3 separate regions of the Homo sapiens genome follow, and all the other regions are linked to region 1. The links are contacts of gene promoters, found by promoter capture Hi-C in human tissues and cell types (Jung and others, 2019). All regions are on one chromosome and are shown on one strand. The core of a region is centred on a gene start or on the middle of the fragment in contact, and the rest is flanking DNA. Distances in the headings are between cores, read along the strand shown. Region 1 holds the start of ZNF560 (zinc finger protein 560). Region 2 overlaps LOC105372269 (a long non-coding RNA gene). Region 3 has its middle 16 kb from the start of ZNF426-DT.

Region 1 (3,045 bases), core at 447-2,946:
ACGAGACTGTGTCTCAAAAAAAAAATAGAATGAAATCCTGTCATTTTCAACAACGTAGATAGAACTGGAGGACAGTACGTTAAGTGAAATAAACCAGGCACAGAAACACAAAGTTGGGCGTGGTAAGCGGTGGTTGCAGTGAGCCAATATCATGCCACCGCACTCCAGCCTGGGCAACAAGGCAACATCCTGCCTCAAAAAAACTCTCAAAAAAAAAAAATCTTGAATAGAGCTCAGATCCAAAAACATTCCGTTATATTTTAGAAGAATTTGGAGAATTTTCATTTATTATACATAGTAAATATTAGATAACATTATTATTTTTAATTTTCTTGATGCAAATAGTATTACGGTTTTAGTAAAACAACACTCTTATCATTGAGTCAGGCATTACCCACTACTTAAATGTCGAGCTTACCATCCTGGCTATCACGGTGAAACCCCATCTCTACAAAAATACAAAAAATTATCCGGGCACGGTGGCACACCCCTGTAATTACAGCCACTTGGGAAGCTGAGGCAGGAGAATCGCTTGAACCCGGGAGGCAGAGGTTGCAGTGAGGCGAGATCGCGCCACTGCACTCCAGCCTGGGCGACACAGCTAGACCCCCTCTCAAAAAAAAAAAAAAAAAAAAAATGTCGAGCTTCATCTCTGCAATGAATTTCCCATTGACTCTCAAACTGTTCACCATAAAATTTATTTACGAGACGGCGAATACACAAAACGCTAAAAAACAGGTGCAGCTACAATGGATATTTATTCGTGGTACTGGATGGTCAACATACCCATAGGTTTAAGTTTTTTCGAAAAAAAATGCGGGAAAAATACACTTAGTACAGTCATCCTGTTAATGGTAAATTCGATTATTCTAGTATTAGTGTGTAAACCCTCCATCCTTTCTTCCAGGAAGCCTGGTTATGAAGCTCTTTGGAGACGTACAGAGCTAGGAACTTCAGATGAAAAGAATGGCTGAGTATTCTTAGGTTTCTTTAGTAGAAAGACTCGCGGTCTACAAACGTTTATATGCACATGCAGAAATACGCACACCCTAGACAACTAAGAAAGCACCTTTCTACCGGAACGTAATGTGTCAATAAAAAATATACAGGTTTCACAAAGGCAAAATGCCAAAATCTCACATGAAACACTCGTTTGCATAAAAAAGGAAGCAGCTGCCCCCTTAAACCAACTTTTTCCCAATGCTCACCCGAACACGGTGGAGTCGCCAGGTCCGTGGGGCTACAGGATCTTGGGGACGGAGTCAATCGAACGCGAACGGCAAAATTCTTTTCCCTCTGAAACACAATTCACAAACGTTGCCTTGGAGACTTATTTTTTAAGGCCTCAGAACGCTTGGACACTTTTGAAGACGGGAACACACGGCTGAAAACAGCCCTCGGACGCGCCCATACTGCACTTCCCACCCGGCTCCTCTAGGGGACCGAAGGTCCCAATGGCCTCTTCGACGTGGCCTCACCCGATGGCTCCGCGACTCCTGCGGACTCCTGTGGAGTGGTCCAGGCCTCTGTAAGGAGGTTCCTCGATTACCCTGGGTCGATTGTGACCTCTGCCACCCCCCGAAACACCGCCCAACCCACTAGTCCACACGAGCCTCACCAAAGTAGTGAACGACCAGACAACACAAAGGAAAAAGTGGCTCTGAGGAAACAGGCGCCAGCGACCAAAAGAGAGAACTGGCGCGCCGCAACGTCACTTCCGTTTGGGGCATTGGAAGGGGCGTGGCTCGTTGTGTGGGCAGTTGGACAGGATGGAACTCTTCAGGATTCTAGTTTCCCTCCGCGTGGGTGCGGAGGTATCAAGGGGTCGGCTCAGTGCCTGGGTGGGCAAGAGAGAAATGGACCCACAGAGAAAGGTGGGGGTTAAATCAGGGCTGTGGGCGGGGCCCATGCCCGGGGGCGGGGCTGGAGGTGGGACCAGACCCAGCCGGTGGCTTCGGTGGCAGAATGGACCAGGAAGGCGAAACGTCGGGCGATGGACTCGCCCCTCAGGATGCTCATTAGAAACTTTCCCCACGTTCCTGGACCCCTTTCAGGATTCTCTCCAGTTGATAACCTGCCAATCCACAAAATGGCCTGCTTCCTGCATTCGATCACGTCTTTAGAACTTTATTTTCTCTTATTTCTTTTTATTTATCTGACCTTGCTAAACTCTAATCATTGATTCCTCTGCGTTTTCAGTTATCGATACTTTCTGTAAATATTGCAATTTTTTTCTTTTCTTTCTTTTTTCTTTTCTTTTCTTTTTTTCTTCGAGGTAGGGTCTGGCTCGGTTGCCAAGGCTGGAATGCAGTGGTAGGAACACGGCTCACTGCAGTCTCCACCTCTCCAGGCTCAAGCCATCCTTCCACCTCAGCCTCCCGAGTAGCTGGGACCACGGGCGCACCGCACCCGGCTAATTTTTGTATTATTATTATTATCATCATTATTATTATTTTGTAGAGACAGGATCTAACCATGTTGCCCAGGCTGGTCTGGAACTCCTGGGCTCAAGTGATCTGCCCGCCCTGCACTCCCGAAGTGGGATTACAGGCGTGAGCCATCATGCACCATGCCTGGCCTTATTGTATTTTTTTTTCTTCTTCAACAATGTATTTGTTACTATTTCTCAAATCTTATCAAATGATTCAAAGCCTCCTGTACTACTTTATGAAATAACACTGATACCAGGCATTCTTCACTTATTCTGTGCAGAAAAAGAAAGGACTGTTGGACTTGTGGTAGAGATTTAGTTGAATCTTCGGGTTATATTGGTATCTTTATAATACTGAGTCTTCCTATGTGTGAATATACAATATCTCTCTATTTAGGTCTTCTTTAAACTCTTTCAGTAATGTTTTGAAATTTTCAGTTTACAAATATTTTACCTCTTGGGGTAAAGTTATTCCCATGTAACTTATTTGTAAAAGGGATCACATTCTCAGTTTCCTTTTCTGATTGTTCATTGCTGGTGTATAGATACAAAACTAATTTTCATCTCTTGATGTTGTACTGTGCAACTTTACGGAATTTATTACAAGCTCTGCT
Region 2 (3,052 bases), core at 100-2,599, 41 kb before region 1:
CCAGGTCTATACCTGAAGTGTAAAAAAGGAAAGCACTGGGCCAATCAGTGTCATTCTAAATTTGATAAAGACGGAAACCCGATTTCGAGAAACGCCATGAGGGGCCAATCCTGAGCCACATTCCAAACCAGGGCATTCCTGGCTCAGACCACTCCCTCACCCCTGTATAATGCTTGTCCCCCGCCACAGCTGGTAGTGCCTCAGTAGATCTGTGTTGCACCAGGGCTGTGAGTCTCCTGCCTGGAAAGCCACTGCAGAAGGTACCAACAGGAGTCTGCGGACCTCTGCCAGCAGGAATGGTAGGACTACTTCTGGGAAGATCTAGTTTAAATTTAAAAGGAGTGCAGGTTCATACAGGAGTAATTGATTTGGATTGTAACGGGGAAATTCAAATCGTTATATCTACCTCTGTTCCTTAAAAGGCAGAACCGGGAGAGCGTATAGGGCAGCTTCTGATTTTACCGTATGTGGGACTAGGAAAAAGTGAAACTAAAAGAACAAGGGGATTTGGCAGTACAAATAAACAAGGGAGAGCCACCTACTGGGTAAATCAAATTACTGATAACCATCCTACCTGTGAAAAAACTATTCAGCGAAAGAAATTTAAAGGTTTGGTAGATACAGGAGTGGACATTTCAATCATATCTCTACATCACTGGCCGTCTGCATGGCCAATTCAGCCTGCTCAATTTAACATAGTTGGAGTTGATAAAGCCCCTGAAGTATATCAAAGTAGTTATACTTTGCATTGTAAAGGGCCCGATGGACAACCTGGGACTATTCAACCAATTATAACTTCTATACCTATAAATTTATGGGGGCTCTCCCCCCATACATTTATTACAACAATGGGGAGCACAAGTTCTAATTCCTGAGCAATTATACAGCCCTCAAAGTCAACATATGATGCATGAAATGGGGTATGTCCATGGTATGGAACTAGGAAAAAATTTGCAAGGTTTGAAGGAATCTCTTCAAGCGGAAAGACAAAGTTCCCGCCAAGACTTAGGATACCATTTTTGATGGTAAGCCTGCAGAGCCTATCCTGTTAAAATGGCTGACAGACAGGCCAATATGGATAGAACAGTGGCCGCTGAGTAAAGAGAAACTGGAGGCTTTAAATGAACTAGTCAAAGAACAGCTTCAAAAGGAACATATAGCTCAAACTCTCTCCCCTTGGAATTCCCCAGTTTTCGTAATTAAGACAAAACCAGGTAAATGGAGAATGTTAACTGACTTAAGGGCTATTAATTCAGCTATATAACCTATTGGGGCATTACAGCCAGGACTGCCTTCTCCTGCTATGATTCCAAAAAATTGGCCTTTAATAGCCATAGATTTAAAAGACTTGTTTCTTTACTATCCCCTTAGCTCAGCAGGACTGTGAACAGTTTGCAATTACGATTCCTGTGGTAAACAACTTGCAGGCTGCTAAGCGTTTTAATTGGAAAGTGTTGCACAAGGCATGTTAAACAGTCCAACAATTTGCCAGACTTATGTAGGGCAAGCAATTGAACCTACTCATAAAAGATTTTCACAGTGTTACATTATTCATCATATGGATGATATTCTTTGTGCTTCCCCCACTCCGGAAATATTACTCCAATGTTACGGTCACTTGGAGAATTCAATTTCTCATGCCAGTTTAATTATAGCTCCTGACGCAATTCAGACTACTACTCCTTACGTCTACTTGGGGGCCTTAGTAAATGTCACCACAATAATGCCACAGAAAGTAGCCATATGTAGGATCAATAGAAAACATTGAATCAGACTTTCAAAATTTACTAGGGTATATTAATTGGATACCGCCTGCTCTAGGCATTCTGACTTATGCCATGAGTACTCTGTTTTCTATCTTTAGAGGAGATCCTAGTGTCACAAGCCCTTGGCAATTAACAAAAGAAGCTGAGGCAGAGCTGCAGCTAATTGAAAAGCAAGTCCATAAGGCCCAAATAAATAGAATAGATCTAGAGAATACTCTAGATTTGCTCATTTTTCCAACTCAGCATTCACCTACTGGTGTTATTGTTCAAGAGCGAGATCTTGTGGCGTAGCTTTTCCTTCCATATACTAATTCACGGACTTTGACTCCTTATTTGGATCGAATTGCTACTATGATAGGAAATGGGAGAACTCGGATTGTTAAATTACACGGATATGATCCTGGAAAAATTATTATCCCTCTCACAAAGACACAAATACAGCAAGCTTTTATAAATAGTCTTACTTGTTAAACCCATTTAGCTGACTTTGTGGGTATTCTCAATAACCATTTTCCTAACATGAAACTGTTTCAATTTTTTGAAATTAACTAATTGGATTCTCCCTAAAATGACTAAATCAAACCAATTGAAGGTACTGAGAATGTCTTCGCAGATGGGTCTAGTAATGGTAAAGCCTCTTATTCTGGATTGAAAGGTAAAGTTTTTCAGACGCCCTATACTTCAGCTCAAAAAGCGGAGCTTGAGGCTGTAATTGAGGCATTGACTGCTTTTAATATGCCTATTAATATGATTTCTGATTCTTCATATGTGGTTCTACACAGTTAGTTGAAAATGCTCAGCTACAATTCCACACATAAGAGCAACTGATGACTTTATTTACCCAATTGCAAACAGCAGTTAGGAGTAGAATGCACCCTTTTTACATCACTCACATTAGGGCTCATACACCTCTTCCAGGACCTTTGACTGTAGGGAATCAAATGGCTGATCACCTAGTTGCTACTGCAATATCTAATGCTAGACAATTCCACAATTTAACACACGTTAATGTCTCTGGTCTCAGACACAGATACAGCATTACCTGGAAAGAAGCTAAAGCTATTAACCAGCGATGCCCAACTTGCCAAATGATTCCTTGAGGATTGGAACCTAATTCTCTTTGGCAAATGGATGTCACACATGTTCCCTCGTTTGGGAGACTAGCTTATGTACATGTATGTGTAGACACCTTTTCTCACTTTGTCTGGGCTACATGCCAATCAGGAGAGTCTTCTGCCTGTGTTAAACATCACCTTTTGCAGTGTTTTGTGGTGATGGGCATTCCA
Region 3 (3,050 bases), core at 60-2,559, 55 kb after region 1:
CTGGCCAGAAGGAGGAACCTTACCAGGGACCTACCCCTTTCCCCCTGGGACTCTCTCATGTCTATCCTGCTGTTCATGGTGACCCGGCTTGGCCTGACTTTGCTCCAAGATAGGAGGGGGCGTGGACAGCAGGGAGAAGCCAGGCAGCTGGGGCAGGCATTAAACATTAGCCAGGCACAGTGGTGCATGTCTATAGTTCTAGCTACTCAGGAGGCTGAGGTAGGAGGACTGCCTGAGCCCAGCAGGCTGAAGCTGCAGTGAGCAGTGATCACACTGAGGTAGGAGGAATAATTTGACTCCAGAGGTGGGGCTCAGACCTGGACAAAATTGAGGACTAGCTAAAACAGGGATGGGGCAGAAGCAGCTTTCCATAAGACACGCCTACCAGTGAGCCATGTCAGTTTAACATTGCCATGGCAACACCCAGGAGTTTCCACCCCTTTCCATGGCAATGACCCGATGACCAAAGTTACCACCATTTTCCTACAAATTTCTGCATAAACTGCCCCTTAATCTACATGTAATTAAAAGTAGGTATAAATATGACCGCAAAACTGCCCTGAGCTGCTACTCTCAGCACACTGCCTATGAGGTTTCCCATAGGAGTAGTCACAAAGCTGTACCACCACCAGAGCTGAAACACTGCTTCTTCGATAAAGCTTCTTTCTTCTACCACCAGCTCACCCTGAATTATTTCCTGGCCAAGGCCAAAAACCCTCATTGGCTAAGTCCCAATTTGAAGCTTGCTTGTCCTACAGCAGCATGACTGCACTCCAGCCTGGGTGATGGAGTGAGAGCCTGGCTCAAAAAATATACTTTATCAAACAGAGGTATATTAGAGGTAAGTTAAGATAGAACAGTTTCTTAATTCTGAAAAAAACAAAACATTTGCGTAAAGAACAATCTTTTGAATAAAAGTCATAAAAACAGGCCAGGCGTGGTGGCTCATGCCTGTAATCCCAGCACTTTGGGAGGCTGAAGCAGGTAGATCAACTGAGGTCAGGAGTTCGAGACCAGCCTGACCAACATGATTAAATCCCATCTCTACAAAAAATACAAAAATTAGCTGGGCATGGTGGTGGGTGCCTGTAATCCCAGCTACTCAGGAGGCTGAGGTAGGAGAATTGCTTGAACCTGGGAGGTGGAGGTTGCTGTGAGCTGAGATCATGACATTGCACTCCAGCCTCAGCAACAGCGCATGACTCCGTCTCAAAAAAATAAAAAAGAAGCCCAGGCGTGGTGGCTCATACCTGTAATCTCAGCACTTTGGGAGGCTGAGGCAGGAGGATCAACTGAGGTCGGGAGTTCGAGACCAAACTGGCCAACATGGTGAAACCCCACCTCTACTAATAATACAAAAATTAGCCAGGCATCTTAGCGCACACCTGTAATCCCAGCTACTCGGGAGGCTGAGGCAGGAGAATCACTTGAACTCAGGAAGTAGAAGTTGCAATGAGCCAAGATTATGCCATTGCACTCCAGCCTGGGAGACAGAGCGAGTCTCTGTCTCAAAAAAAATAAATAAAATAAAATAAAAAGAATTTGCATTTGGGGAAGTTTGTCAAAGATGTTAGAAGGCTCAAAACATTTGATTGAAACAGGATAACAGCTCACTTGTTAGTAATCCATGTAAATACAGTGATAATCAAAAGTCATTAGTAGGAGTAAATAGAGTTACTAGGAAAAAATGAATCCTTTTAAAGCCCAGAGTTTTTTGTTGATTCTTTTTATTTATTTCAGGGGTAGATGGGGGACAGCGTCTCACTCAGTGGCCCAGGCTGGAGTGCAGCAGCACAAAAGTTCACTGCAGCATTGATCTCCCAGGCCTAAGTGATCTTCCCACCTCAGCCTCCCCAGTAGTTGAGACTACAGGCACACGTTACCACACCCAGCTAATTTTTGTATGTGTGTCTTTTTTTTTTTTTTTTTTTTTAAGAGATGGGCTTTCATCATGTTGCCCAGGCTGGTATCGAACTCCTGAACTCAAGTGATCCTCCCACCTCAGCCTCTCAAAGTGCTGGGATTCAGGCATGAAACACCATGCCCAACCAACCAGGTTTTTTTTTTTAAGTGATAAAAAACTTAATAAAGGCAATACAGGAAATTATCTCGATAATTTCTTGTAAAACCTTTCTTAGACCAGCTACCAAAAAGGTAAAGAAAAACCTTCTACAGTGTGATTATTTCTCCTTATGCAAAGTGCATTTAGATAACCTGGAAGTTGGCCAGGCATGGTGGCTCACACCTGTAATCCCAGCACTTGGGAAGCCGAGGCGGGTGGATCACTTGGGTCAGGAGTTCGAGACCAGCCTGGCCAACATGGTGAAACTCTTTCTCTACTAAAAAACACAAAAATTAGCCAGGGGTGGTGGCACACACCTGTAGACCCAGCTACCAAGGAGGCTGAGGCAGAGAATCACTTGAACCCAGGAGACAGAGGTTGCAGAGAGCTGAGATTGCGCCACTGAACTCCAGCCTGGGTGACAGAGCAAGAATCCATCTCAAAAAATAAAATAAAAATAAAAATAACCTGGAAGTTGAACGTGATGAAAAGTGTGCTTGGATTTAGTTAGGAATATGTCCAAGGCTATGAGTGTAAAAATTTAGGTACATCAAGAAAAGCCGAGAGTACAGAATCAAGTTATACAGAGCAAATACATTGCTTTTCTAGGCCTTCATGATAAATATTTCAGTGTCAGGCCATAATAGCCGATTTAGAACCAAAGAAAAAACTTACAGGAGCAGACAAAAAAGTTGGAGACAGTCATCATCCCAGACCTTCTCAATGTGAAAAAAAGAAGGCAATGATGTATGACCTGCAAATGACATACACTGAGATGCAAGTAAAGTTGAGCCTCTGAGACATGAATGAGAAATCTGAAAAAACAAAACTCTACCTCAACAAATTGGCTGGTTTTGGTTTTGGTGGCTCGTTCCTGTAATCTCAGCACTTTGGAAGGATGAGGCAGGAGAGTAACTTAAGGCCAGGAGTTTGAGACCAGCCTGGGCAACATAGCTAGATGCCATCTTTATTAGTCTGTTCTCGCATT

The links. The method cuts DNA at HindIII sites, captures the fragments that hold promoters and counts their contacts. A contact is called where the count stands out against the background at its distance.
Region 2: a contact is called between a fragment that was not itself captured here and the fragment with the promoter of ZNF560 in region 1, in 2 of the 25 tissues and cell types used here (adrenal gland and pancreas).
Region 3: a contact is called between a fragment that was not itself captured here and the fragment with the promoter of ZNF560 in region 1, in 2 of the 25 tissues and cell types used here (ovary and small bowel).

The regions. Positions count from the first base shown.
Region 1 is chr19:9,496,920-9,499,964 of GRCh38, forward strand. It overlaps ZNF560 (zinc finger protein 560), which reads right to left and starts at 1,697. Exons shown (of 10, transcript NM_152476.3): 1 at 1,619-1,697; 2 at 1,209-1,296. The HindIII fragment of the contact is 15,358 bases long and covers 1-3,045 here.
Region 2 is chr19:9,455,978-9,459,029 of GRCh38, forward strand. LOC105372269 (a long non-coding RNA gene) reads left to right here. Exons shown (of 3, transcript XR_007067133.1): 2 at 1-3,052. It also overlaps a transcript of ZNF560 not described here. Among named protein-coding and RNA genes, the nearest start is that of ZNF266, 22 kb to the left of the region's middle. The HindIII fragment of the contact is 4,913 bases long and covers 1-3,052 here.
Region 3 is chr19:9,552,695-9,555,744 of GRCh38, forward strand. No RefSeq gene overlaps it. Among named protein-coding and RNA genes, the nearest start is that of ZNF426-DT, 16 kb to the left of the region's middle. The HindIII fragment of the contact is 5,877 bases long and covers 1-3,050 here.